Regions from separate parts of the Homo sapiens genome. Here regions 1, 2, 3 and 4 are each linked to region 5. Evidence: promoter capture Hi-C in 16 types of primary human blood cells and fetal thymus (Javierre and others, 2016). All regions are on one chromosome and are shown on one strand. The core of a region is centred on a gene start or on the middle of the fragment in contact, and the rest is flanking DNA. Distances in the headings are between cores, read along the strand shown.

Evidence for each region. Contacts are between HindIII fragments. The CHiCAGO score rates a contact against its expected background, and 5 or more counts as called.
Region 1: a fragment that was not itself captured here is called in contact with the fragment with the promoter of GCG in region 5 in 7 of 17 cell types (naive CD8 T cells, total CD4 T cells, fetal thymus and 4 more); the score reaches 7.3 in naive CD8 T cells.
Region 2: a contact is called between the fragment with the promoter of TBR1 here and the fragment with the promoter of GCG in region 5, in 2 of 17 cell types (total CD4 T cells and M0 macrophages). The highest score is 5.7, in total CD4 T cells.
Region 3: a contact is called between a fragment that was not itself captured here and the fragment with the promoter of GCG in region 5, in 1 of 17 cell types (megakaryocytes). The highest score is 5.2, in megakaryocytes.
Region 4: a contact is called between a fragment that was not itself captured here and the fragment with the promoter of GCG in region 5, in 4 of 17 cell types (activated CD4 T cells, total CD8 T cells, naive CD4 T cells and 1 more). The highest score is 6.4, in activated CD4 T cells.

What each region holds. Positions count from the first base shown.
Region 1 is chr2:161,601,770-161,607,066 of GRCh38, forward strand. No RefSeq gene overlaps it. Among named protein-coding and RNA genes, the nearest start is that of SLC4A10, 20 kb to the right of the region's middle. The HindIII fragment of the contact is 919 bases long and covers 3,445-4,363 here.
Region 2 is chr2:161,412,531-161,417,657 of GRCh38, forward strand. TBR1 (T-box brain transcription factor 1) reads left to right here and starts at 3,767. Exons shown (of 6, transcript NM_006593.4): 1 at 3,767-4,572. The coding sequence starts at 3,881. RefSeq lists enhancers at 1,982-2,131, 3,893-4,515 and silencers at 2,182-2,351, 2,422-2,471. The HindIII fragment of the contact is 4,993 bases long and covers 1,723-5,127 here.
Region 3 is chr2:161,238,544-161,244,178 of GRCh38, forward strand. All of the region lies in intron 3 of PSMD14-DT (PSMD14 divergent transcript), which reads right to left. Among named protein-coding and RNA genes, the nearest start is that of LINC01806, 3.4 kb to the right of the region's middle. RefSeq lists enhancers at 1-397, 4,546-4,625, 4,646-4,755 and silencers at 229-598, 689-758. The HindIII fragment of the contact is 5,710 bases long and covers 1-5,025 here.
Region 4 is chr2:161,564,086-161,569,309 of GRCh38, forward strand. It overlaps the pseudogene MTNAP1P1. Among named protein-coding and RNA genes, the nearest start is that of SLC4A10, 58 kb to the right of the region's middle. The HindIII fragment of the contact is 2,220 bases long and covers 1,106-3,325 here.
Region 5 is chr2:162,148,848-162,154,499 of GRCh38, forward strand. GCG (glucagon) reads right to left here and starts at 3,400. Exons shown (of 6, transcript NM_002054.5): 1 at 3,311-3,400; 2 at 240-340. The coding sequence starts at 331. The region is part of intron 1 of LOC101929532 (a long non-coding RNA gene); the gene reads left to right. RefSeq lists a promoter at 3,288-5,009. The HindIII fragment of the contact is 4,864 bases long and covers 1,891-5,652 here.

The DNA.
Region 1 (5,297 bases), core at 2,654-5,153, 550 kb before region 5:
GCCACATATGAAAGAATGATATTTAACTCTTGAGAAATTTAATCCTCATGTATTACTGGTGGTAACTTAAACTGATGGAGCCAGTTTGAACAATAGTTTGACAGTTTCCCAAAAATTACATGTAGACTTACCATATGACCCAGCAATTCTACTCTTAGGTATATACCTCCGCCAAAAGGAAAATATATCTTTAGCTAAAAGCTTGTCTGTAAATTCTCATAACAGCATTATTCAAAATAGCCAAAAGTGGAAACAACCAAAGTGTTCATTAATTGATGAATATAATTGATGAATTACATGAATAAAAATCCATGTAATGCTGTGTTATTCACTGATAAAAAGGAAATGAAATAGCTATACATACTACAACATGGATGACCTTGAAAACATTCTGCTAAATAAAAGAAGCCAGACACAATGGCCATATATTGTATGATTCCATTTATATGAAATGTCCAGAATAGGCAAATCCACAGAGACAGAAACGAAATTAGAGATTAGTAGTTGCCAGTGATTAGGAGCGGGACTTCTTTTTGGTGTGATGGAATGTTCCAGAATTAGTGCTGTAGTTGCACAACATTGTGAATATGCTAAAAACTATTTTAAAAGTTAAAACTGGTGAATTTTATATTACATGAACATGATCTCAATAAAAATGTTTCTGATAAAAAGAATGATTTTTTTTTGTTTTTTTGTTTTTTTTTTTTGGTAGAGACGGGGTTTCACCATGTTGCCCAGGCTGGTCTTGAACTCCTGGACTCAAGTGATCCACCCACCTTGGCCTCCTAAAGGTCTGAGATTATAAGCATGAGCCACTGCGCCCACCCAAAAGAATGATGTTTGACTCTTATTTCATACCGTATACAAAATTAACTTAAAGTTAATCAAAGACCTAAAGGTAAGAGCTAAACTATAAAACTTAGAGGAAAGTGTAGGAGTAAATTTCATGACCTAGTGTTTGGCTTTGGCTACTTAGATATGACAACAAAAACACAAGCAACAAAAGAAAAAAACAGATTGGTCTTCATCAAAATCAAAAACTTTTGTTCATGAAAGGACACTATCAAGAAAGTAAAAGACAACCCACACAATCAGAGATAATATTTGCAAATCCTGTATCAGGTAAGGAACTAGTATACAGAATATGTTAAAACCCTAACTACTCAACAACAAAATGACAACCCAGTTTTTAAAATGAGTAAAGTCATAAATAGACATTTCTTCCAAGAAGATATACAATGGGCCAGTAGGCACATGAAAAGATGCTCAACATCATCAGTCACTACAGAAATGTAAATCAAGACCACAATGAGATGTTGTTTTCCACTGCTAGGATGGCTATTTTAAAAAATGGGAAATAACAAGTGTTGGTGCAGATGTGGAGAAATTGTAAACTTCATACGTTGCTAGTGGGAATATAAAATTGTGCAGTTTCTGTGGAAAACAGTTTGGCAATTCCTCAAAAAGTCCTACTTACAGTTACCATATGATCCAGCAATTCCACTCCTTGGTAAACACTCATATGAAATGAAAACAGATGTTCAAACAAAATCTTGTAAACAAATGTTCATAGCACTATTCACCATATCCAAAAAGCGGAAACAACCACAATGTCTATCAACAGTTGGGTGGCTAAGCAAAATACAGTATATGTATTCAATAGAATGTCATTCAGGCATACAAAGGAATGAAGTACTAATTCATGCTACAATAAGAATGAAGCTTGAAAACTTCATACTAACTGAAAGAAGCCAGTCATAAAAGGCCACATACTGTATGATTCCATTTGTAGGAAATATCCAGAATAGGCAGATTCCCAGGGGCAGAAAGGTTACTGATTGCTAGGGCATGGGGTTTGGGGCAAATGAGGAGTGACTGATGAATGGGCATGGGCTTTCTTTTGCGGCAGGGAAAATGTTCTGGAACTAGAAATTGGTGGATGGTTGCACAACATTGTGAATGTTCTCAATGCCACTGAATGTGCACTTTAAGATGACTAAAATGGTGTCTTTTATGTTATATGAATTTTACCTCAATAGAGTTTTCTGATTATAAGATGCCTGAACTTCTTATTAAATTTATTGGGATGAATTGGCTACTTCTTCCTCTTTGTCGTAATCTTTAAATTTTGCTTTAAAAAATTGTGATTTGCATAGTAAATAGTTTCTGGGTCTCACTAAATGAGATTAAGCAAATATGCTCTATACTATTATATAAGCTGTAGTCAAATAAAAAACCCTTATAATACATTATGCTGAATTATAAATACGATTATTTCATTAGGTCTGAGTTGCCTATTCATTTATTTTATGTTAAAGGGGAACATACATTTAAAATGTTATTCCTAAAGCAATACTTGGGGTTATAACATTTAATTTCTCACAATTTAGTAGTGTACTGATCCATGTGCTTTCATATTAACTATTTAAGAGTTGCTTAATGAATATTGTACTTAAGTGAAAAATTAAAATATTTTTAATGTTTTTAACAGTAAGTGAATTTACTGTGTAAAATGCTGAACACTGCACATAACATTCAAAGTATAGTTTATATGTTATCACAAATTTGTGCTGAAAAGTAGAAATATGTAAACACTTAAAGTCATTAAATCTTACTGGAACCCAAGTTTTTCCCAGAGAGTTATTACATATTAAAGTGTAAAGTAAACCAAAAATAAAATCTTATAATCAGATTAAAATGTTTTTCAGTTGATATTTTCCCTTAGCTTTTGTTAATTGACACATATAATAATTTCAAGAGATGATAGTAAATATATAGGGTATACATGGCACATGCAGAAATCTGTACATTTCTCTAGCGTATACTAATGTATCTATTTGAGATTTAGCTAAAACAACTGAGATGAGTGCTAACAAAAATTGGGTTATTTAAACCAGGTTGTAGAGAGTACAGTTGGTTTTCAAACTGTGTTAGACAGAAAATGATTGTTGACTCCAGCTCAGTGTTCTTGAATACTTGTTTCTAGTCTTAATATAAATGTAATTTGTGTATATATACATAATGCTAAAATGACTTCATTTTTTTATGGATCTTAGGGTACAAGTTTCAGAGTATTCATTTGGGCTTAAGCAGCAGGGAGCAGAACAGAATTGAGACTGAGATAAGTTAGCATTTGGGTATACTAGATAATCTGTCTGGAGGCAGATAATTGGACTTTTTGAGTCAGATATGAATTGTGACTCCAGGTGAAGAAGTGAATCTGAAACCAGGCAGGCAGGCAGAATTCAGGTTTATAGATAAACCAATTGAACATTAGGGGAAGGCAGAAGACCAGAAACCAGGCAGACAAGTTAGCAGAACAAGACAATGAAGTACTATTAAGGCAGACACTTTAATCTAGACAGGTAATTCATAGGAACCGAAAAGGCAATAGCTGACTTTCATTTTGAAGCATGCTCTTGATAAAAGGTGATGATTTTCATAAGCTTCCCATTAAACCAAAAGCCAGTCTCAAGTTTTGGTTTTTGTAATACTTGCTGGTATTAATAGAAGTAGAAAATAATGACTCAGCCTAGCAGGAATAGGGAAGGTGCCCACAGCATATAAGGCCACATTCTAAATACTATTGGGAATATATATTCTTTTGCTTTTTAATTGCTTTATTGCCTGGGTGGATTTAAAAATTCATATTTCTGAAGTTTGTCTGAGACAGAAGTTGAAGATTTTTGACAGTTCACAAAATCAATAATTCTTTATTAATTATATATTTTATTATTTCATCCCAGAAAGGAGCTACATTCTTAAAAGATAACTCTTAGAAAACCATATGAGTGGCTTTCAAATTTGTATTTATCTGTCAGCCATTCTTCTAATAATTTAACTGTCATTCGGCATATATTTATTACTCGTCTGCTATGTGCTGGGCATATTTTAGGAATAAAAAAGCAGGAATAAGGGAGGAAATTGTATGTAACAGATTAACAAGATACTTTATAATAAATGTGTAATTTATATAGAGGAGTATACCTCAACCATCTTTCTATTTTTTTTCTATTTGACGCATTCGTTGCCTTTTTCCTGTATTCTTTTGGATTGTGTAATTTTTATGATGACATTTTATCTATTTTATTGACTTTTAAACTGTGTTTTTTGTTTTGTTTTTAGTGTTTGCTTAAGCATTTACAAATTATATTTTAACATGCCACAGTCTACTTTCTAATATTTTTTTTTCACTTGACATATTGGATAAGAACCTGCAATGGTATACTTCCATTTCCTTTTATTCTCTTTTGTGGTAGTTTTGTCATATATTTATTACTGCCTATGTTATAAACTCCATATGACACTGATAATATTTTTGCTTTAAACAGTTACCTGTTAAGAGTTTTTAAAGATAAGAAAAAGCTTGTTTTACACATACCGCATATTGACCATTTCCAGTACTTCAATTCTTTGTGTAGATCTACTTTTCCATGTGATATCTTTCTTTCTTTTTGAGTAGCTCCCTTTAACTTAATTTCTTGTACTGATGGTCATTTAATAACCTCCTTAAAGTTTTGTATTTTGTCAGATGTATTTTATATTTGTCTTTGCTTTTTATTGAACAGTTTTATTGAGGTATAATTTGCATCCATAAATTTACCACTTTTAAGAATACAATTCAATGATTTTTAGTGTATTTAAAGGGCTGCGCAACCACCACCACATTCTTACTTTAGAAAGTCTCCATCACCCTGAAGAGAAACTTCATTTTCATTTGTGGTCATTCCCACCCTGTCTTAGGCAATCACTTATCTACTTTTTGTCTCTAGATTTGAATTTACTGGATGTTTTGTATAAGTAGAATCATACCGCATGTGGTCTTTTGTATGTGACTTCTTTCACTTAGCATAATGTTTCTGAGGTTCATTCATGTTGTACTGTGTATCAGTACTTCATTTTTTATTATAAAAAAGTATTACATTGTAATACCCCTTTTTGTTTATAATTTTTCAGTTGCTGTCTGGCATTTGTGTTGTTTCCACTTTTTGCCTACTATGACTTGTGCTACTATTAATATTTGGATACCGTTCTTTGTGTGGATAGATGTTTTCACTTTGGGGGAAATACCTAATTGTCTTACCTAGGTTGGTAAAATTCTGGATATACATCTTGGAGTGAAATTGCTGGGTTATATGGTAAATTTATGTTTAACATTTTAAGAAATTGCCAAACTTTTTCAAGGTGTCTGCACCATTTTACAGTCCCAATAGCAACATATAGTGCTCCAATTTCTCCACAGCCTTCCAACTGTTATTATCAGTCTTTCTGATTATAGCCATTCTAGAGAATGTGAA
Region 2 (5,127 bases), core at 2,517-5,016, 740 kb before region 5:
TGTCCTACTGGAACAAGTCTAGGCTCTTATTGGTTCCCTAGTGAAGTTACCAGAAACTGAAAGTCAAAATGGCTTAAATTCCCAGTATGTTTCACAGTATCTTTTTTGGTGGAGTAAGAAGTATTCTGAGCATTTCTTGCTTGTCCTGTGGTTTACTGTTTCAGATATAGTGACAGTATATTTTATGTAGGACATGTAATATGTATTAATTTAAGTTGTTGGGATTACATTTAACCATTTAAAATTCAAATATAAGTGGAAGTTAGTGAAATTTTCTTTTGCCTAATTCAAACTTGTGTGCAGGCTTTTTGGATATGATTTTTCCCTTTGCAAATAAGATTCTATAACTTATTTCACAGATGTTGTTAATGAGTGCTAGTCAATGATTTTTTGGGGGGTACAGTGCCCTCAGAAGAAGGCCTTAACATTTCAAGAACTATTCTCAATATTTGGGTTGAAAGGGTTTTTTTGTTTTTGTTTTTGTTTTCTACTTAGTCCTCTGAAAATATCCTGAGTCCTGTGACTGGAAAGGCTTACCTTGCCTGTTTTTTTGCCCTTATTTGATCACCCCATCTTCCTGGACTCCCTATAGCCACACACCACTTACTCTCACTTAGTTCATGTTGGTGACATTCCCAGTTTCAGAACCTTGTCAAAATCTTTGCTAGCAAAAACCTACATTACTTTTTGTAGATTTGGAGTCGATCAAAATCAAGATGCCCTAAGAGGCAAGGCTCAGTGAACACCTTTGTCTTGGAATGTACAGCTATTTTCGCAGCAGCCTGATGTCCCAGGCCCAGTTAGGCACTGAAAAGATGCATTTAATCACAAACTTAGTAAGCTGTTTAAGACTGTATATGTATGCGCGCACATGTGCACGCAATTACCCCTCCATCATGCAGAGGTAAAGCAGCTCTGGAAACAAAACTGTTTGTCTCTAGTGCAGAAATGTCCCTGCTTTTCTCTCAGACTAATACGGGGGCACTGAAAGCTCCGGCCTCACTATTCAAAGTGTCATCTGCCTGGACCAATAGCATCTGGGTCTTATGGAAATTCGTTATATATACAGAAAGCAAGCCCCACCCCAGGCCTATTGAATCATAATAAAGAATCCTGGTGTGGTTCATATACACTTTAAGGTTTGAGAAGCCCTGGCCTTCTTTTAGAAGTACGGTTCACAGGCACATGTGGTGATTCTGAGGAAAGCCTTCATTTTCCTTAGTATATATAAATTCAAGGCATACCCTATATGTGAGCAATCACTGAATTTGGTACTGATAATCCAAAGTGGGTCAGAGAGCACATCAATTCAATTCCTTAAAAACTCTGAAGGAGGTGCACTCTTTCCCTTTTCTATCCTTTAACACCTTAACATTTCAATTTAGCATAAAAAAAAAACAGTTTAGGGTGTCGAGAATGGCAAAGCCTCAAAAAGAGCCCAGGTGATGTCTCACCTCTACACATTTAAGGCTCTGTCCCACTGAGAACGGAGGAAAGTACTGTCTTCCGAAGCACCGGAGGGAGAGGCACTCAGGGACAGAGAAGTTGAAGATGGAGAAAGAAGGAAACAAAAGTAGCCAAAAGTAGTCAAGAGGTCAAAAGCCTCTCATGAGGGCAAATGGCAGTAGAAGGTCAAGGGCAGAAAAACAAGTGTCAAATGGCATCCCCTACTCCCCTCCCCCGCACCCCAACGATTCAACAGCTAAGACTGCTTGTTTATGAAGCTTCCTGGCCAGGAGCTGAGGTTTGCTTTCGAAAGGAAAAATGGGTCTGGCTCTCTTTTTATCCCAGAAAATTGTCTCGGCTTTAGTCTGGGACATCTGGTCAACAACCTGCCCTGCCCAGGCCGCCAGCGCAGGGCCTTGCCCGCGGCGCGTTGATGGAGGCCGCAGCTGGTGCCCTCTGCAGCCAAGGCGCTCAGCCCGCCTGGAGGGGCGCAGTCTCGGCTCAGCGCTGACCGCTCGGCCCACCGAGGCGCAGCTCTGAAAATGCACCACAGTGGCGAAGCGGCGAGTCTGGATAACCCGTCTCCGCCCATGCTCAGGACCCACCCAATGTCCCCAGGCGCTGCTCTCACTCCGGGAGCTGCCCCGGCCCGGGTAGGACAGACGCGCTCGCTCGAAGCCAGAGGCTCCCCCGGCTGAGGTGCCCAGGCCGCTCCTCCAGCCCGGGAAGAGCGTGTGCCCCTGGGGTCTGCGCCAGACGCAGCTCACCCCTTGCTCCTTCAGTCTCCCGGGCGGAGCCCGCCCTCGGGCCGGCCAGCTCTCGGGGCCGAGCGGAGCTCTGGGCGGCGCTCCTCCTGCTCATTCCCGCGCGGCTCGGCGTCCGGGAGGAAAGCCGCGGGAGGGCAGGTCAGCGAGCGCCGGGCCGCGGGAGGCAGCTTTGGGCAGATAAAAAGCCTCTGCCGCTCTTGGCCCTCTGGCTCAGGCCGAGGGCTGGGCTCCTCTGTAGAGCCGGTGCTGGGAGACTTCCTCCCTACACCTCGGGGTCTCTTCGGGCCTCGTGCTATTTATTTGTGCCAACATCTTTTTAAATTGGTTTTTTTCTATTCCTCTTTAGATTCTTTTTCCTTTTAAAAATTATTGGCATGGATGCTTTTTCTCCCCTCCAGATTATATAAACATTAAACACACACACGTACACACACACACACGTTTTCAGTAGCGATTACTGTGTTGACACCACTTCCACTCTGTCTCCCCAGATCAGCGCTTCTGACGAGCCCATTTGCACGGGGACTCGGCCCTCTCTTTTCCTGGCGAGGCTTTTGAACCTGTCGCCAAGCCAGTACCTCAGAGAGAAGGAAATGCAGAGGGACGAGAAGGATGCATGGCGCCTGCCCCCAGTTAGATGTTCTTCAGATAATCTGCAACCAAGTGCGCTGATAAAATATTTAATAAAGAGCCGGTAAACATCACTGCAAATACATTAAGGCATTTCAGCCCGACAGCTTATGATTATTTCAAAACTTAAAAAGGAGATCATAGATTGTCACTGTTTCTGTACTCAACCAAGAAACCGAACCTTCCTGAGGTGGGTGGATTGGTGGGTGAGTTGCTGCTTTTCGCCCCCTCTCCTCCCCCCTTCTGCTTGTCGCTGTGGCTCTCAGCAGCAGGGATTTATTTATTTATGTTTGCAGTTTAAAAGGTGGGGGTGGGGGCGCCGAGGACATGTAGGATCTGCTCACAAAGCACCAGCTCAGGTGTTGTGTGCTTTTGTATTAGCTGGAAAAGACAGACTCTGGAACTTTTACAGGGCGAGAAGAGGCCACCGGCTCGCGCTTTGTATACTTTGCACTTGAAATCGTTACATTCAACTGAATATTTGGCTCATTCAGATCCGAAAAGTCTCCTAGCATCGTCGAATTCCCTCCTCCGCCCCTCCGCTCTAAAGGGGGGAAGGGGGGGAAGGTAGGAAATGTTTAGTAAATTCCACATCTTTGAATCTTCCTAAAGCAGTGGTCACAGAGCTTAAAGGTGACACAACAGTGCTCACGTAAACCAACACACATTCCCCACCCCCCAAGCCAACAATAAAATCATCCCCTTCAATTTGCCATGATCGTCGCTACCAGGAGCCAGGTGATTATCCTAATTAATGTCTATCTAATTAAATTACTGTCAGCAGCTAACCAATGGCAGGAGCCGTTTCATCGGCTGCACAAGCAGCAAGATCAAAAGTGAGCCTTTTCTGATTGCTGCATAGTGTCAATTGGCCAATCTCTTCTCCCAGGGAAAAAAAAAAGTAAATCAAACCTTTGAGAAGCATTTGCTGGTTGAAGTGCTTTCTGTCTAGTGAGGGGGTCTGTGGATTTCTAGTTTATGATAAATAGGACTTTAAAAACCAGGGACGGGAGGGCGAGTGTTCAGGTTCTAGAGCTATGCAGCTGGAGCACTGCCTTTCTCCTTCTATCATGCTCTCCAAGAAATTTCTCAATGTGAGCAGCAGCTACCCACATTCAGGCGGATCCGAGCTTGTCTTGCACGATCATCCCATTATCTCGACCACTGACAACCTGGAGAGAAGTTCACCTTTGAAAAAAATTACCAGGGGGATGACGAATCAGTCAGATACAGACAATTTTCCTGACTCCAAGGACTCACCAGGGGACGTCCAGAGAAGTAAACTCTCTCCTGTCTTGGACGGGGTCTCTGAGCTTCGTCACAGTTTCGATGGCTCTGCTGCAGATCGCTACCTCCTCTCTCAGTCCAGCCAGCCACAGTCTGCGGCCACTGCTCCCAGTGCCATGTTCCCGTACCCCGGCCAGCACGGACCGGCGCACCCCGCCTTCTCCATCGGCAGCCCTAGCCGCTACATGGCCCACCACCCGGTCATCACCAACGGAGCCTACAACAGCCTCCTGTCCAACTCCTCGCCGCAGGGATACCCCACGGCCGGCTACCCCTACCCACAGCAGTACGGCCACTCCTACCAAGGAGCTCCGTTCTACCAGTTCTCCTCCACCCAGCCGGGGCTGGTGCCCGGCAAAGCACAGGTGTACCTGTGCAACAGGCCCCTTTGGCTGAAATTTCACCGGCACCAAACGGAGATGATCATCACCAAACAGGGAAGGTAATACTACATTTTTGGCTGCCGCTGCTCTAGGCGCAGCCGGGGACAAGTGCACCTAGGCTGTGACTGCCGCGGCAGCGACGATTTGGGGTCGGGAGCGGAGTGGAAGGCGCCCTAGAGTTGGCTAGTTTTGGAAAGGGGGAAAGTGGAAGGGATAACCGCCAGGGTGATGTTGGTGGGGGGGACCCCGTTCTAGGAACATAGTGGGAGAGCCAGTCAGTGGCCAGAGGAAGGCAAGAAAAAGGAAGAGCCCTGGCCAGCGGCTGGGCGATGGGAGGGACGCATCAACACTGGCATGCACGGACAGGTGGAGACGCAGGTCGCCAACCTCGCTCTCCACCTGGGCAGTGATAACTGCCACCTTCCCACTCCAGCTCACCCGCCGCTCTCCCTGATTTGGGTTGCACTTCTTTTCTTCTCCCACCACCCTTTTTCTAATCCAGCAAATATTCGCCTATTTGCTGCAAGTACAAGTTTTGCTTTGCTAACTGGCGCCCCGCTTCTTGCATTTAATCTTTAACATTTATGTTTCTTTTTTCCTTGTTTTCTCCCCCC
Region 3 (5,635 bases), core at 921-3,420, 910 kb before region 5:
CAGAAGTCGGGAAGAAAAGAGAAAAGCAGCAGGCTGATTACGAGGTGTCAAAACTGCCAGGAGCAAGAAGGTGATAGCAATCAGGGGTGAGAAGAGTGCGGCATTCGTGCGGGGCAACTAATTATCCGTCTCATTTGAGAAGAGCAGCATTTGAGGCAGCAGCGTTCGCCTGCTGAACGGTGACAGATTGGCGCGGAGGAGAGGGGAGGTGTTAAAACAATGGAGCCGGGCGCGCGAGCGCTGCTGCATGCTAATCAGCCCTCCCTCCGCCTGCCTGCCGCGCTCCCTCCTTCCTCCCGGCCTCCCTCCTCCGCGCTCCCTCCTCCCGCCTGCGGCGCTCCCTCCTTTCCAGCGGGCCCCGCGCCGCCGCCGCCACCCGCTTCCTGCTCCCTCGCTTTCCCGCGCGTCCTTCCCGCCGCTGGCGAGTGGAACCCAGCCACCGCCACCGAGTCCCTAGCGGGCCAGGAGCCCCCGCGCGGCCCCCAGCGCCGGCCCGGTGGAGTGCAGCCCCGCGCGGGCTCGCCCGAGGGCTCGGCCTGCGCCGCGCGCCCACTCCCCGGGGCGGTGGGGCGAGGACCCGCGCTCCGGGATCCACGTACTGGGGAAGCGGCCGAAGAGCCTGCGTTCTCACGCCCACTCGCTGTCTGGTGAATCGACCGCGTCGGCCAGCGAGCGCGACTGGGAGTCCAGGCGAATTCAGAAAGGGCTAGGGCCAGCCAGGGGTGAAAAGAGTGACAGGGCCACAAAGGCCAAGAAGGGCTCCAGGACTGAGCGCAGATCTCCTGCCCTGCCCGAGCGTGGCCGCCACCCCGAGGCCTCCAGCCGCCCCCAACCCGCCCTGCAGTGGCCGCGCCCCGCTGGCCTGCGGCGAGTCGGCGAGGTCAGCGCCCCCCGCCACGCCTCGCGCGCTGCGGCTCTTAGACCCCTGGAGCCCCTTTTTTGCCAGAGCTACCGGTCCACGGTTTAAATGATCGCAGCGAAGATACATAAAGGGCCTTAGCATTAGCTGTGCTTCCAAGGCCTGACCTCCTGACCCCAAGACTAGATTAAGGGGCCGTCTGGGCCTCGAGAGTTCCCTCGAAAGACCGTCGCGGGGAGAGAAGGGCCTGGAAAGAAGCGGGCCGCGCTCCCCCCTGCCGCGAAGACTGTGGGGCAGATGGGGGCAGGACCTGATCTGGAGGCCCAGCTCCCCGCCTGGCCGCTCTGTTCTATACTCTGGCCCGAGACAAGCTAGTCAAAAACAGCAGCGCCCTGGCCGCCCCTCCGACAAAGAGCCCATCGGAACCCGAGTCTGCTGAAAAAAGCCTTTCATACCTGTTGATGCAGGCGGGGACCTGAGATTTCATACAACCTCCTGTTACTTTTTGACCGTAAAAGCTGATTGTTGCACTTAAAAGGCACTTTTATTCCTACCATTAAAATATTTTTACTGTTACGGGTTTACATAAACTACCCTTATAAACATCATAAAACTTCCTTCCCCGTAAGCCATAGATGGACCTCCAGAGTAACTAAAAACCTGTGCAGTGTAATTGTTTCTTCTGCTGACCCCTACCTTTGCATAACTTTATACACACCATTGTTCCTTTTTAAAAAATCAATTTAAAATAAGGTTTGCTAAAGCTCAGTCATATATACACAAAGGTTTCATTTATATTATTCTGCTTTGTAATATTTCATGATAAAAGTACACAAAAATGAAATTAAAATGAGTAAATTTTGGTATTTTTATACCATCCTCATTGATCCTAGTCATGTGAAAAACTACACAAGTGCAGAGTGAATCATTTTTCCTTTTAGAATATGCCCAGGCATACCAATAGAATAGCTGAATGCAAACTTCAGATCTACTAAAATCATACAGAACGTTTTAAAGTTTTTAAGTTGAAAAATCTTAGAAGAGTTACATAAAGGATTTTGTGTAAGTAAATGTTAATGCTTTCTGCTTTCCACTCTTTGGAAAACCACTAAGCAGGCCTCTGCCCTTGGCATATACAGACTTCTTGATGCTACAGTATTAGCTGGCATTTGGAAAATTCCCTTGTGTCTGAATCTGTTAAAATAGCAACCTATCTAACAGCAAAACAAATTTTAACTTTATATTTATTCATGTAAACGTGGAGATTCAGATGTTCCATCAGCATCAAAATTAAGCAATTTATTAACTATTCACCAGCCTTTGCTTCATTAACCAATTCTGTAGAAGCAATGTCTCTCTAAAGCTGTGAATCTACAGAGCTCAAACAAATTTAGTTCAATCCCATGTTGTTATGTATCTCACCAAATTATTTATCTTCCAATAACTTGGTTTATACAGGCTTAGTGTAATTTCCTCTCAGTATACAGACCTCACAAATTTGCATGACTGTTTTAACGGTGTATTTACAGATAAGTTTTTATTTGCACATAAGGACAAAAAGGTGAAGTGAAATTTGGTCCCAATGGAAACCTGTTAGGTTCCCTGAACATATGGCTCATTGGGCTGTTACTTCCTTTTTGAGATCATTTTCCAAGATTTTTTAATATATACATCAATTTGACACCAGTTATAAAGAAAATATATTGGCTTTGAAGATTCCTCCACCTGGGGCATATCTCTTAATAACACACCATGTAGTCAGGTGTACCTCTGAATATACAGGTTTCCAGTCTCTGAAAACGGCATATTTTGAAATCAGTCAGAGCTGCCAGTTGATTTACACTGTCTTTGAAATTAAGTAGTTCTTTGGATTCTTAGAATGCCACATTGATTTGATTAATACAGTTTAGGGGTGACTAAAACTCTTTTTTGGAAGGCTGTGCATTTGGAATCCACAGTATTACAATGATTTCTCTCAGCAGATACAAGTGATGTAAGTCTCATTTGTTGAAAGTGTGTGGTGCCAGCTTAAGACTTAAGGGGAAAATCACAGCACTTTGAAAAAGATGTAAATGTTCAATTGGTAAAAAAGGGGAAAAAACCGTGCTAAAACATGTGCCTATTTCCATTATGCTTAATTTACTATTCAAAACAAGTTTTTCCTAATAAGCTCTATTGTTTCTTTCTGTTTTGTAAAATTTAATATGTGTGAGACAAAAACCAGATTCAGAATGTGAATGAAGTCTGTTTAGCGAAAGATTGTGGGAGCTTACAGTTCAAGAAGGCCTCAAATTAAAAGAAACATCATCTTCTATCACCAAAAAGATACAAAGAAGCAAGTTTCTTGGGTCATTTCTAGGACCAGTTCCTAGATTGCCAACTTCCTCCATCCTCAGAGCTCCTCATGGATGAATTCACACACTTTAAAGTGCACCAAGCACTAGAATATTCAGAATGATTATGCCACGTTTATTTACTGCATAGCTGTAGCTTTCATCTTATTGTAGTCCTCTTTTCTCTGAAGCATCAATCCCCTAATAGGACTGAAGTAAGTTCTCAAACATGTTATCCCCTTGTCCTGACTATAGAGGGTTATGTCTATCTCAAAATCACTCACACATTTTCAGAGAATCTGTACCTGATTATGCAACCCTTTGACGTTTAACCCATCTCCCATGGTTGAATGTCCCCTTGGAATCCAGAAGGCCTGGATATCCTGGCACTTGCCCATGTGTCCTTTGTTGTTTAGGGCTATACCATGAATACATTCAAAAACTATCTTGTTAATATCCTTTGGAAGGACTGTAAAAATAATGACTTTTCACTTTAAAATAATTCAAGGAATAGTTGTTTTTAAAAGAAAATGTTAAAGACTGCCTAATTCAACTTTCTTTTTGTGTGGACAAAACAAACAATAAAGAAACAAACAAAAAAACCCCACTGTATCTAAAGAGAATAAATGAGTCCCTCACACCTACTCAAATAGTTGGAACTCAACTCAAGCTCTCCTGTCTTTTTCAAACTATTGTTTTTTCCATAACCAGCCCTTACCTCAAATAAAATACAGTGTTTCACTGACTTTGTACTTTGTTTCAGAGGAAGCCTAAGTCCTATCCAAAGTCTTTTTACACAAAAGAATAAACCACAGAGAGAGTAGGGGGCCTGACATTACCTGACACTGGAGTGGGGTTTATTATTTAAAGTTGTCGGCCAGGTGAGGTGGCTCACGCCTGTAATCCAAGCACTTTGGGAGGCCGAGGCAGGCAGATCACCTGAGGTCAGGAGTTCGAAACCAGCCTGGCCAACATGGTGAAACCCCATCTCCACTAAAAATACAAAAATTAGCTGGGCGTGGTGGTGCATGCTTGTAGTCTCAACTACTCTGGAGGCCGAGGCAGGAGAATCGCTTGAACCTGGGAGGCAGAGGTTGCAGTGAGCCGAGATCGCACCACTGCACTCCAGCCTAGGGGACAGAGCCAGACTCCATCTTAATCAATCAATCTATCAATCAATCAATGTTGTCAGTTTATCACCACTCTAACAAGGGCCCCAGTCCATTTCTGCTTGGAAAAGAGGCACCTTAACCCACTGGGTGTTGAGCATCTCTCTGGCCTGCTCCAATGAGGGAAGAGCAAGTCATGGAACATATTTTTGTAGACACAAACTAACATGAGAGAAGATAAAAAATGATTTGTACCTCTAGAGTATGGAGTTAAACCATACCATAACTGCCAAACCACAGTGCTAAGTTTTTTAACAGTCTGAATTCTAGGTTAGAGTTTGTCTGGGGGAAACAAAATAGCTAACCAGCACGAACTGGAAGTGAGCTTATGTATTTTCTAAAACTATTGATCTGGAACTAAAACATTATCTAAACCAACCAAATACTTCATTTGGTTCCAGACCTGGCCTTCACTGTCTGGAGATGGCTGTGCAGCTCAGAAGGAAGTCTCGGCCTTATATTATCTTCCCCTGAGAGTATTGGTGAATCAACTCTGAAAACAGCACTCATTAGACAAATAGTTTCTCCATTTGCAGCTGTTAAATAGCTCTACCCGCCAGTGATAAAGGGGCATCCTGTGTGGGTGTACTCAGACCTCTTCAAGCAACTGGCTTAAAAGGAAGGCTAGCTCACTGGGGATCCAAAGTATCAGTAAGGGTGATAAAGCTTGCTTGAAAAAGCTCTCTCTAACTGGGGCTGGGGAAGCAATGCAAGCAGCAGGCTTTCTCCAGAAAGCAGCTTTCTAACTCCTCACCCTCTCACACACACTTCAATATACAAAGACCCACTGTTTTGTTGCGTTTTTCCTGAGGTTTTACCTTTGGCACTGCAAAAGCCTTTTCTTTCAGCATCTGCAAGACCCTATTGGATGAGATCTATTTCTAGGTTAAAGCCTTTGATACATTTCAAAGCAGACTTTGCCTTTAAAGTTCTCAACTCAACTCTTTTTTTTTTTTCAAAATATACTAAATACCAATGGGTAACGTGGCTCTATAGTCAAGGTTTAGAAAAAATATATGCACTAATGCCGACATGGGAACCACTGTAACTGACATTCCACTTGCAGACATGCTAGGGTACGCTCTACCGGCTAGGGAGGGAGGGTTTCTGTGGGCCAGACCCAGTCAGCCAACCTTAGGAAAGGAACCCGGCTCCATTTCCTAGTGAAGTGGCAACAATGACTGTCATTTCCTCCTCAAATATAATGTAAGGACATTTCCAAGTCGCTTCAGTCATTTCTTCCTCCTCCACCCTACCATGTGCTTACAAAAGTA
Region 4 (5,224 bases), core at 966-3,465, 590 kb before region 5:
TAGACTTGGAAATTTTTCACTGATTATTTTCTAAAGTAGGTTTTCTAAATTTGATCTCTCTGCTCCCTTGGGAATAATGATAATACATAAGTTTGGTCACTTTGTGTAGTCCCAGATGTCTCAAAGCCTTTTTTAATTCTTTTATTTAGTTTTTTCCTTATTTTTGTCTGACTGGAATATTTCAAAAGACCTGTTTTCAAATTTACAAGAAAAAAACAAACAACCCCATTAAAAAGTGGGCAAAGGACATGAACAGACACTTCTCAAGAGATGACATTCATGTGGCCAACAAATATATTTTAAAAAGCTCAACATCACTGATGATTAGAGAAATGCAAATCAAACCCACAATGAGATACCATCTCATGCCAGTCAGAATGGTGATTATTAAAAAGTCAAGAAAGCGCAGATGCTGGTGAGGCTGTGGAGAAAAAGGAACACTTTTTCACTGTTGGTGGGAATGTAAGTTATTGTGGAAGATCTAGAAGCAGAAATAACATTTGATCCAGCAATCCCAATACTGGATATATACCCAAAGGAATATAAATCATTCTATTATAAAGATAAATGCATGCATGTGCTCATTGCAGCACTATTCACAATGCAAATATATGGAATCAACCCACATGCTCATCAATAATAGACTAAACAAAGAAAATGTGGCACATATACACCATGGAATACTATGCAGCCATAAAAAAGAAATGAGATCATGTCCTCTGCAGGGATATGGCTGGAAGCCATTATCCTCAGCAAACTAATACAGGAACAGAAAATCAAATACCACATGTTCTCACTTATAAGTGGGAGCTGAATGATAACAACACATGGACACATGGGGAGGAACAACACACACTGAGGCCTCTCAGAGGGTAAGGGGTGGGAGGAGAGAGCATCAGGAAGAATAGCTAATGGATGCTGGGCTTAATACCTAGGTTATAGGTTGATCTGTGCAGCAAACCACCATGGCACACATTTACCTATGTAACAGACTGCACATCCTGCATTGGTACCCTGGAACGTAAAATAAAAATTGAAGGAAAGAAAAAGATTTGTTTTCAAGTTCTGAGATTTTTTTCTTCTGCTTGATCTAGTCTATTATTGAAGCTTTCAAATGTATTTTGTATTTTCTTCAATGAATTTTTTACATCCACAATATCTGCATTTTTTTAAAAGATATCTATTTCCTTGGTAAATTTCTCATCCATATTCTGAACTTTTTTGTACTGTTTTTCATATTTCTCTTGCACCTCATTGAGCTTTGTTAAAATCAATATTTTGGTTTATTTATCTGGCATTTTGAGGCATTCTTTTTTATTTGGATCTGCTGCCATGCAATTGTTGTGTGGTGTCAAAAATCCCTACTTTTTCATGTTTCCTACGTCCTTCCATTGATATCTGTGCATCTGGTATAGCAGTCACCTTTTCATTTTTTTGTTCACATTAATAAAAAATTTACTTTCTATATAATTGTTACAGATTTCAATAATTTTATTCTTTTCACTCCCTCTTCTTGCTCTAAATGCCATTTTAAATTATTAACTATGTATTGAAGTCAGCTCCATTGTATGCCCCTTGTAGTTCCAAAGATTTCTTTTTCTTTCTTTTTTTTTCACTTATACTTTAAGTTCTAGGGTACATGTGCACAATGTGCAGGTTTGTTACATATGTACACATATGCCATGCTGGTGTGCTGCACCCATTAACTCGTCATTTACTTTAGGTATATCTCCTAATGTTATCCCTCCCCCTCCCCCCACCCCACGGCAGGCCCCGGTGTTTGAAGTGCCCCTTCCTGTGTCCAAGTGTTCTCATTGTTCAGTTCCCACCTATGAGTGAGAATGTGCGGTGTTTGGTTTTCTCTCCTTGTGATAGGTTGCTGAGAATGATGGTTTCCAGCTTCATCCATGTCCCTACAAAGGACATGACCTCATCATTTTTTATGGCTGCATAGTATTCCATGGTGTATATGTGCCACATTTTCTTAATCCAGTCTATCATTGTTGGACATTTGGGTTGGTTCCAAGTCCTTGCTATTGTGAATAGTGTCACGATAAACATACATGTGCATGTGTCTTTATAGCAGCATGATTTATAATCCTTTGGGTATATACCCAGTAATGGGATGGCTGGGTCAAATGGTATTTCTAGTTTTAGATCCTTGAGGAATCGCCACACTGATTTCCACAATGGTTGAACTAGTTTACAGTCCCACCAACAGTGTAAAAGTGTTCCTATTTCTCTACATCCTCTCCAGCACCTGTTGTTTCCTGACTTTTTAATGATTGCCATTCTAACTGATGTGAGATGGTATCTCACTGTGGTTTTGATTTTCATTTCTCTGATGGCCAGTGATGATGAGCATTTTTTCATGTGTCTGTTGGCTGCATAAATGTCTTCTTTTGAGAAGTGTCTGTTTATATCCTTCACCCACTTTTTGATGGGGTTGTTTGTTTTTTTCTTGTAAGTTTGTTTGAGTTCTTTGTAGATTGTGGATATTAGCCCTTTGTCAGATGGGTAGATTGCAAAAATTTTCTCCCATTCTGTAGGTTGCCTGTTCACTCTCATGATAGTTTCTTTTGCTGTGCAGAAGCTCTTTAGTTTAATTAGATCCCATTTGTCAATATTGGCTTTTGTTGCCATTGCTTTTGGTGTTTTAGACATGAAGTCTTTGCCCATGCCTATGTCCTGAATGGTATTGCCTAGGTTTTCTTCTAGGGTTTTTATGGTTTTAGGTCTAACATTTAAGTCTTTAATCCATCTTGAATTAATTTTTGTATAAGGAGTAAGGAAGGGATCCAGTTTCAGCTTTCTACATATGGCTAGCCAGTTTTCCCAACACCATTTATTAAATAGGGAATCCTTTCCCCATTTCTTGTTTTTGTCATGTTTGTCAAAGATCAGATGGTTGTAGATGTGTGGTATTAAAATCTAGAAGAAACGAATAAATTCCTGGACACATACACCCTCCCAAGACTAAACCAGGAAGAAGTTGAATCCCTGAATAGACCAATAACAGGCTCTGAAATTGAGGCAATAATTAATAGCCTACCAACCAAAAAAAGTCCAGGACCAGATGGATTTACACCCAAATTCTACCAGAGGTACAAGGAGGAGCTGGTACCATTCCTTCTGAAACTATTCCAATCAATACAAACAGAGGGAATCATCCCTAACTCATTTTGTGAGACCAACATCATCCTGATACCAAAGCCTGGCAGAGACACAACAAAAAAAGAGAATTTTAGACCAATATCCTTGATGAGCACTGATGCAAAAATCCTTAATAAAATACTGGAAAACCGAATCCAGCAGCACATCAAAAAGCTTATCCACCATGATCAAGTGGGCTTCATCCCTGTGATGCAAGGCTTGTTCAACATATGCAAATCAATAAATGTAATCCAGCAGATAAACAGAACCAAAGAAAAAAACCACATGATTATTTCAATAGATGCAGAAAAGGCCTTTGACAAAATCCAACAACCCTTCATGCTAAAAACTCTCAATAAACTAGGTATTGATGGAACGTATCTCAAAATAATAAGAGCTATTTATGACAAACCCACAGCCAATATCATACTGAATGGGCAAAATTGGAAGCATTCCCTTTGAAAACTGGCACAAGACTGGGATGCCCTCTCTCACCACTTGTATTTAACATAGTGTTGGAATTTCTGGCCAGGGAAATCAGGCAGGAGAAAGAAATAAAGTGTATTCAATTAGGAAAAGAGGAAGTCAGATTGTCCGTTTGCAGATGACATGATTGTATATTTAGAAAACCCCATCGTCTTAGCCCCAAATCTCCTTAAGCTGAGGAGCAACTTCAGCAAATCTTAGGATACAAAATTGATGTGCAAAAATCACAAGCATTCTTATACACCAGTAACAGAAAAACAGAGAGCCAAATCATGAGTGAACTCCCATTCACAATTGCTTCAAAGGGAATAAAATACCTAGGAATCCAACGTACAAGGGATGCGAAGGACCTCTTCAAGGAGAACTACAAACCACTGCTCAATGAAATAAAAGAGGACACAAACAAATGGAAGAACATTCCATGCTCATGGATAGGAAGAATCAATATCGTGAAAATGGCCATACTGCCCAAGGTAATTTATAGATTCTGTGCTGTCCCCATCAAGCTACCATTGACTTTCTTCACAGAATTGGAAAAAACTACTTTAAAGTTCATATGGAACCAAAAAAGAGCCCGCATTGCCAAGACAATCCTAAGCCAAAAGAACAAAGCTGGAGGCATCACGCTACCTGACTTCAAACTATACTACAAGTCTGCAGTAACCAAAACAGCATGATACTGGTACCACAACAGAGATATAGACCAATGGAACAGAACAGAGCCCAAAGATTTCTTAAGTGACGTCCAGGTCAACACTACTTACACCAGTACTGCAGCTTCAGATGCATGAAACTCCAGCTACAAAATAGGATGAAGTATCCTTTAAAGAGCACTGTGATACCACTGACTCTACTCTTCTTTATGGTGGTATTGCACTTAGTCCAGCCTTTTTGTACAGCTCCCAAGAGCTTCATTAGAGAGAATTTGGAGATTGTAAGTCTGATTGGGGGTTTCAAACTTCTTATATCAGTCGAATTTCTTTCCAACGAAGGAACTTGTGAAAGTCTTCCCTTCTGGGAACGGATAAGCTGTGGTTTCTGGGCCATTGCATTCTAACACTGAGGCTTTCCTGGGAACACCCCTAGTCCAAGATAAGCAGGAAACAACTCCAGCCCCATGGAGCTGAAAGGTCCTTTCTGCCAGCAGTTGTAGCATGATTGGTGAAGGGGCTCTGAGAAGTGTGATCCTGGGGTGAACATAAAGGGCCCTGTCACTAAATGTGCAATGCTTGGAACTGAAGCCAGATATGGGCTCCAGAGAGACTTGTTCTTTACTCTCCACTAATGCCTTTACATCTGAGACTCAGTTATGACTGCAGTCTTTTACTTTCTCTTCTTGAATAAATTTTCTAGACAGAGAGGCAAGACTTTGGCTGCTTGGTTGCATTACAGAAAGAAATTCATTGTAAGTTATCGCCCTTGGAATGAACAAGCTTAAACGGAGTCTTCATCTTGAGATTTCTTCTCTGTGGCTGAATCATCAGTGTTGAAGTCCTATGAGCCATGCTCATGGCAGGCCATTCCTGCTTTTCTGTCCCAGACACACTTTTCTCCTGCATTTTCTCTACTCTGAGGCTAAGTCCTT
Region 5 (5,652 bases), core at 2,150-4,649:
GAGCTATAATTTCCCCTGTAACATGTTTTTCAACATTTCTCTCCCCTTTTATTATAAAAAACACAAACTCTGATCTACACTCCAACAAAGTCTGCTTTTATCACAAGGATACTTTAAACATTTGATCATTGTGCAGAATATTTATTCTAAATTACTGAGACCTTATTCACTAATCATAGTTTTCACAGGCTTTATTCCAACCATATTGATATGTTAGTTCGAGACTACGGATTTAATACCTGGATTTCTCCTCTGTGTCTTGAAGGGAACGTTGCCAGCTGCCTTGTACCAGCATTACAAATAATCCAGCCACAAAGTAAATGCTTTTCATTTCTGCTGTCTGTCAGAACACAGAATGGGGGTAGGGTGAGGGGGGCAGGCAAGGATTTTTAAACATGTCAGGCTAAATTAATTAGATTTGACTAGATAAATATCATAAGTAGAAGGAAAAAGCTAGTGTTATCACTTTTATTCTGATTATATTTTCAGCTTAATTTTAAATAGTGGGTTATATTATTTCCCCAGATTTTTTGGAGGCAAAAAAGGACACAAAAGATGTGTTCCACCATTAAGCTTTTTCATTAATGTAGGGACACTTCTGTTTAATAATTAGAAGGCTCATTTCCAGACTGGAAATTAAAATGTCCACAATCAACATTTAAAATACCCACTGTAGATGATATGCTACATATGGTTAGCCTGAATGGCACCTTATCCATCATGCCACCCCCCTCACTATCAGTCTGGCTTTCAATTAATAGTCCTTCACTTCCAAGCATTTACATTATACTGCATTTCAACCATCTTAAAGCAGCCTCAGGCTACAACTTGGCATACCAGCTGTCGGTTCAGATGTATTATTCATTTATATTTTAAATAGTGTAACTTGGTCTAGACTTTGTAATTATAAAGCGGCCAACAGATTTGAGGTATTTTAGGGTGCTTTGACCTGTTCTAAATTAAAGGGAAAAAATCATTTTAAAGACAAGCAATTTGCAACAAGAACTAATGCTTCTGGCAACGTGAACAATCACAACTAAAAAACTAAGAGATTACTATGTAAAAAAAAATTAGAGCTTGCTTCTAAAGTCATAAAAGTCCCCAGGTTGTTTTCTAATTGGACTTAGATGAGGACATGTCATTCACTGCTGGTGACACCATAGACTTGGTTATAGGATACACCTGATTGCTTGTCCCTGTGTCACAAGCAGATGCCCTGCGAAGCCATAGTATGTTAAGGATGTGATGATGCAGTGTCGACGGGGACTGGGACCAACATGAATGTGGGACAGAATGTCCCCACAGAGCAAGCGCTTCTATTTTCTGAATGGGAACGTCAAGTCCGTCTTTGTCATGGATCTCGGCTACTTTGAAACCCAATGGTGTTTCCTTTGAGAAGCGGGCATTTCAATCCAAGTTTGACTATGCTTATCCACAAATAATTTGAATGAATATTTTTAGCAAATGACATTTGGTTTGGAATAAGGATTTCACAAATATTATCATTTTTAAACTATCAATCTTTTCCTTAATATATTAGCTGTATTTACTATCTCTGGCACTAAAACATAGACACTGTAATACCTGCAGCAGTAACTTTTTTCTTTGAAATATTAAGTTTTTTGTACATTGAATGGATGATTAGACAAAGGAACATAATAGGAATGATATATTCACCTTTCTTCATTCATCAACATCAAATTACCAATTTGACATTTTGCTATGCTTCAGTTTAACCGGTTGGCAGACTTTGGAAACCTTGCCATATATTTAGGTAGTATCTACTGATTATAACTCTCAATTGTTATATCCGTGCTTGCAGGAATATTTAAATATTAAAGTAAGCACTTCTTTTAAAAATTATACCACTGTTGAAAAGTTTCTTGTAAAAGCTTTTAGTCTTTCACAAGACTGAAAAAAAAATTCATTCCACCCAAAGTCCTAAGCGTTTTGCAATATCTCCTATTATGTTCCATTGAGGAGGATTTAGAGCAGGAGGTATCCTGCCACTTCAGGAGCTGATGGAAGAAAGAACAACCATAAACCACATAAAGAAGTGAGCGTTCCGTATCTAATAATATTACCAACAATAAATGACTTCTTCTGAAGAAAGAACTGGCTTTAAAAATCTCACTTATTTGTTTGTGAAAGTCTATCGAATTGTGAAAAAAAAAAGAATAGAGTTAATTGTTTGAATACAATTGCTGAGAAAGTAGAGATTTATGTTATTTTAGTATTAAAATCTTATTCAATAAGAAAATAATTTCCAGTTAATTTCCCCCCTCTTTAGGTAGTCTAAAGAGAGCCTGCAGTTTTGTAAGAACTACAAATTTCCACTAAAATTTAAAGGAAAGTATGGTAACAATAATAAGTAGGAAGTCTTACAGAAAGATTAACCTTAGACCTAAAAAAGAAGACATTATGTTCTATCCCCAAATGTGTTGGCATTGTAGTCCATATAAATCCTTTTTCAAACTGGTTAGCTCATTTTATGTAATAGGTCTTCAGTATGTATGGAAAAATACACCACTTAATCATTTACTCCATCAAAGATCTTTGTAAATTTGTTTTTTGTCTCTAGGAGCCTAATCTAAAAAGACAAATTAAAATTTTATTGCAGAGGGTAGCTATTTTAGATTTTATTACTATTTATCCTCAATACATAGTAAATAGTTATTAATGTATGGCTTCACTCAGATGCATCCAAAGAAAACCCCCCAAATAGATGACACTTGTTCTCTGCACCAAGTACGCTATGTTTTATTTACAAAGAGTTGCTTTAATGGACTTTGATTTTTTGATAGATGTCTGAAATTTGAATATTTGAAAGATGTTATTTAATTTGCTCTTTTGGAAAACCAGAGATTTTAATTGGTAAAAAGCAATTTCTGTTATAGGCTCCCTAATGGACACATTTCTGCTTACTTTAAAAGACGCCTTCTGTTCAAAGTAGTATACAGATCTATCAAGTCCAAGAAAAATATTTATTCTTCAAAATGTTACCAATTATTTTAAAATACAACTCTCATAACAGTTAAGTATTATAACAAGTGCATTGATTTGAATCTTTGTTTTTTTTCTGTTTTATATTTTTGCATATAATTATTTTTCCAACTCGCTTTGCGGCTTCGCTATATTAAAGTACACGTAAATGCATTTGATATAACCTTTTCCATCTCAGTTCCTCTCTGTGTACTATTAGTAATAAAGTCTAAGATGAAAGAACAACATTTTAATTTATAATATTTTGATCCCTTAAAAATACTTCACTGTCCGCCAAACAGGATTTACAATTTTATAATCATCTTACCTTCTGGTAGTGTGCTGTAGAACAGAGCAGGTGAAGAGAGAGCAAGCCCTCTTTGGGAACTTTTGATGTGCTCTGTGTCCTAAGCTCTGTACTTCTGCACCAAGGCGCACTGCTTTTATATACTCTCCAGCTCTGTTTAGCCTCACAGATATTACGCTGACAATATAAATTTCTCATCTGTAAATAATGAGTTTTTGTTACAAATGACTTCCCTCTCCCACTCACTTTGCTCATCTGCATTCTATGCTTATATTGGGTGAGAGACCTTAGAGACCTGGAAACTTTTTATGCACTCTTGTATCTTTTTTTTTTTTTTTTGGTTGGGAATGGAGAGAGCAGCTTGGAAATCCACCTTCTACTTTCAATCACGCATGAAAATCACTTAAGTTCTCTAAAGTGAATTTTGACGTTGAAGACAAAAGACCTTGAAATTACGTAGCCCATGGCCATCCCTGTTTTGTGCATGTCCTCATTTGAGGTTCTTACAAGTCTTTGGTTTGCTACCTAGCCATGATGAATTTACCTGAATATAACAATCACTTCAGTCATTCATTTATCTAAATAATGATCATTCATTCAACACATATGTATTAAAAATCCTCTCTTCCTCACAACGTGGAGTTTATTTATGTTATGTTTGTGGAAAATTTAAGGATATTGATTAAACCCCTATGTGTTCTGTTTTAATAAATGGAATTCAGGCAGAAAGGATGGAGCAAAATGAAGATTAAACATCCAAGATAGCTGATGCTAACAGGAAATTATCTGGTATTTTTTTCCTTCTAATATATATTTAAAATCTAATTTTACTGATAAGAGAGTGGGGTACTAAGTTACAAAAGAATGAGATATGAGGAAAACTGTTGAGATGAGATGCATATTTTCACGTTTCCTGAGTTTTGTGACTGGACACACAGGCTTTAATGATCTGTGACATTTAGCAGAAATGATTCTGGTCACTGTAGAGAAATAGAAAAATGGTAAATAATCTGGAAAGACAGCATAAGAAGTAGTGTTGGCATAATTTGATTTTAGTTTTGCTGTTATTGACCAGCTGTGTGACCTTGGTCAAGTCACGCATTCTCTTTGTGTCTCTGCCTCCTTATTTGTAAAATGAGAGGGGTTGGTAAATGTCTTTTCTAAAATAAAAATTTTATTCCATATTGCAAACTCATCACAACATTTCCTAACTAGATTCCAATATTCTAATATAACCAACCGCATGATGTCACTGATGACTTGTATGGAGGTAAATCATTGAGGCAACTGGAGAAATATTCCAAATGAACTTAACTGTTCAATTTGTGCATGAGACCAACGTTTGAATGTAGAGCTACTTGAAGGCCACAGAGATCACTTTCAAGTCAGACTGGAAGACATCATTGAGGGGTTTTTGTGCTGGTGATTATTGGGTGCTAGAAAGCCTTGCTTTGCAAAGTGTGGTCTAAGGACCAGCATCATCTGGGAGCTTGCTAGAAATGCAGAATCTCGTGCCTATCAGAATCTGTATTTTAACAAAATCCTAAGGAAATCTGTGTTCATATTAAAATTTGAGAAGCACAGCTGCATAAAATATCTGCCTCACTTTATCTCCTCATTGGTACTGCTGGTGTCTTGATCTGAGACCTGCTTCTTGGCACTCTACCAGCAGAGGGGGTGAAAGAGCAGAGAAAGGTGTCAAGCCTTAGGTCGGTCTAGAGAGTAATACTTATAAATACGGTAATAGCTTGAAAGAGTGGATTGATTTAATGTATGATTACATTGTCTTTCTCTCTGGCTACAATCTTCACACAACTATTCGCTATATTTTTAATCGTTTTGGCAGATTCAGTTCTACTTTTCCCATTGTCTATTTGTCTATTTGAGCAGATGTTTCTTTCTGTCTCTCTGTCTCTGTCTCTCTCTTTCCTTTTCAGACTCTACTTGTTTGTGGAGCAGCCCTAAGAAGGAAGATCTGCAGATCATATATATAAAATCTTCAACATAGCACTGGCCTTTCAGTAATTATCCTCTCCCAATATTTAACTACCAAACATTTTTCTTTCCCTCCACTCTACTTGCTTCCATTATTCTAGAAGTGACTATCCCAAGTTGTTTCAGAAAATTTCCTGTGACTTTATCTCCAGCCCACTGACACTGATTCTTGGGGCTCCCAGTACCATAAGGGTAAGCATTCTCAGGATGTATAAGCAATAAGAACCCCACTGCATTGTGTGCTGCTCTCCTCTCTAGGAGGGGCAAGTCAGGCTTCTTCATGGACACCGAATTGTCAGAAATTAAGACAGAACTCAAGTGCAATTTGGACTTGCAGATCTTCTTCCTATCACTGTTCTGGCATGAGC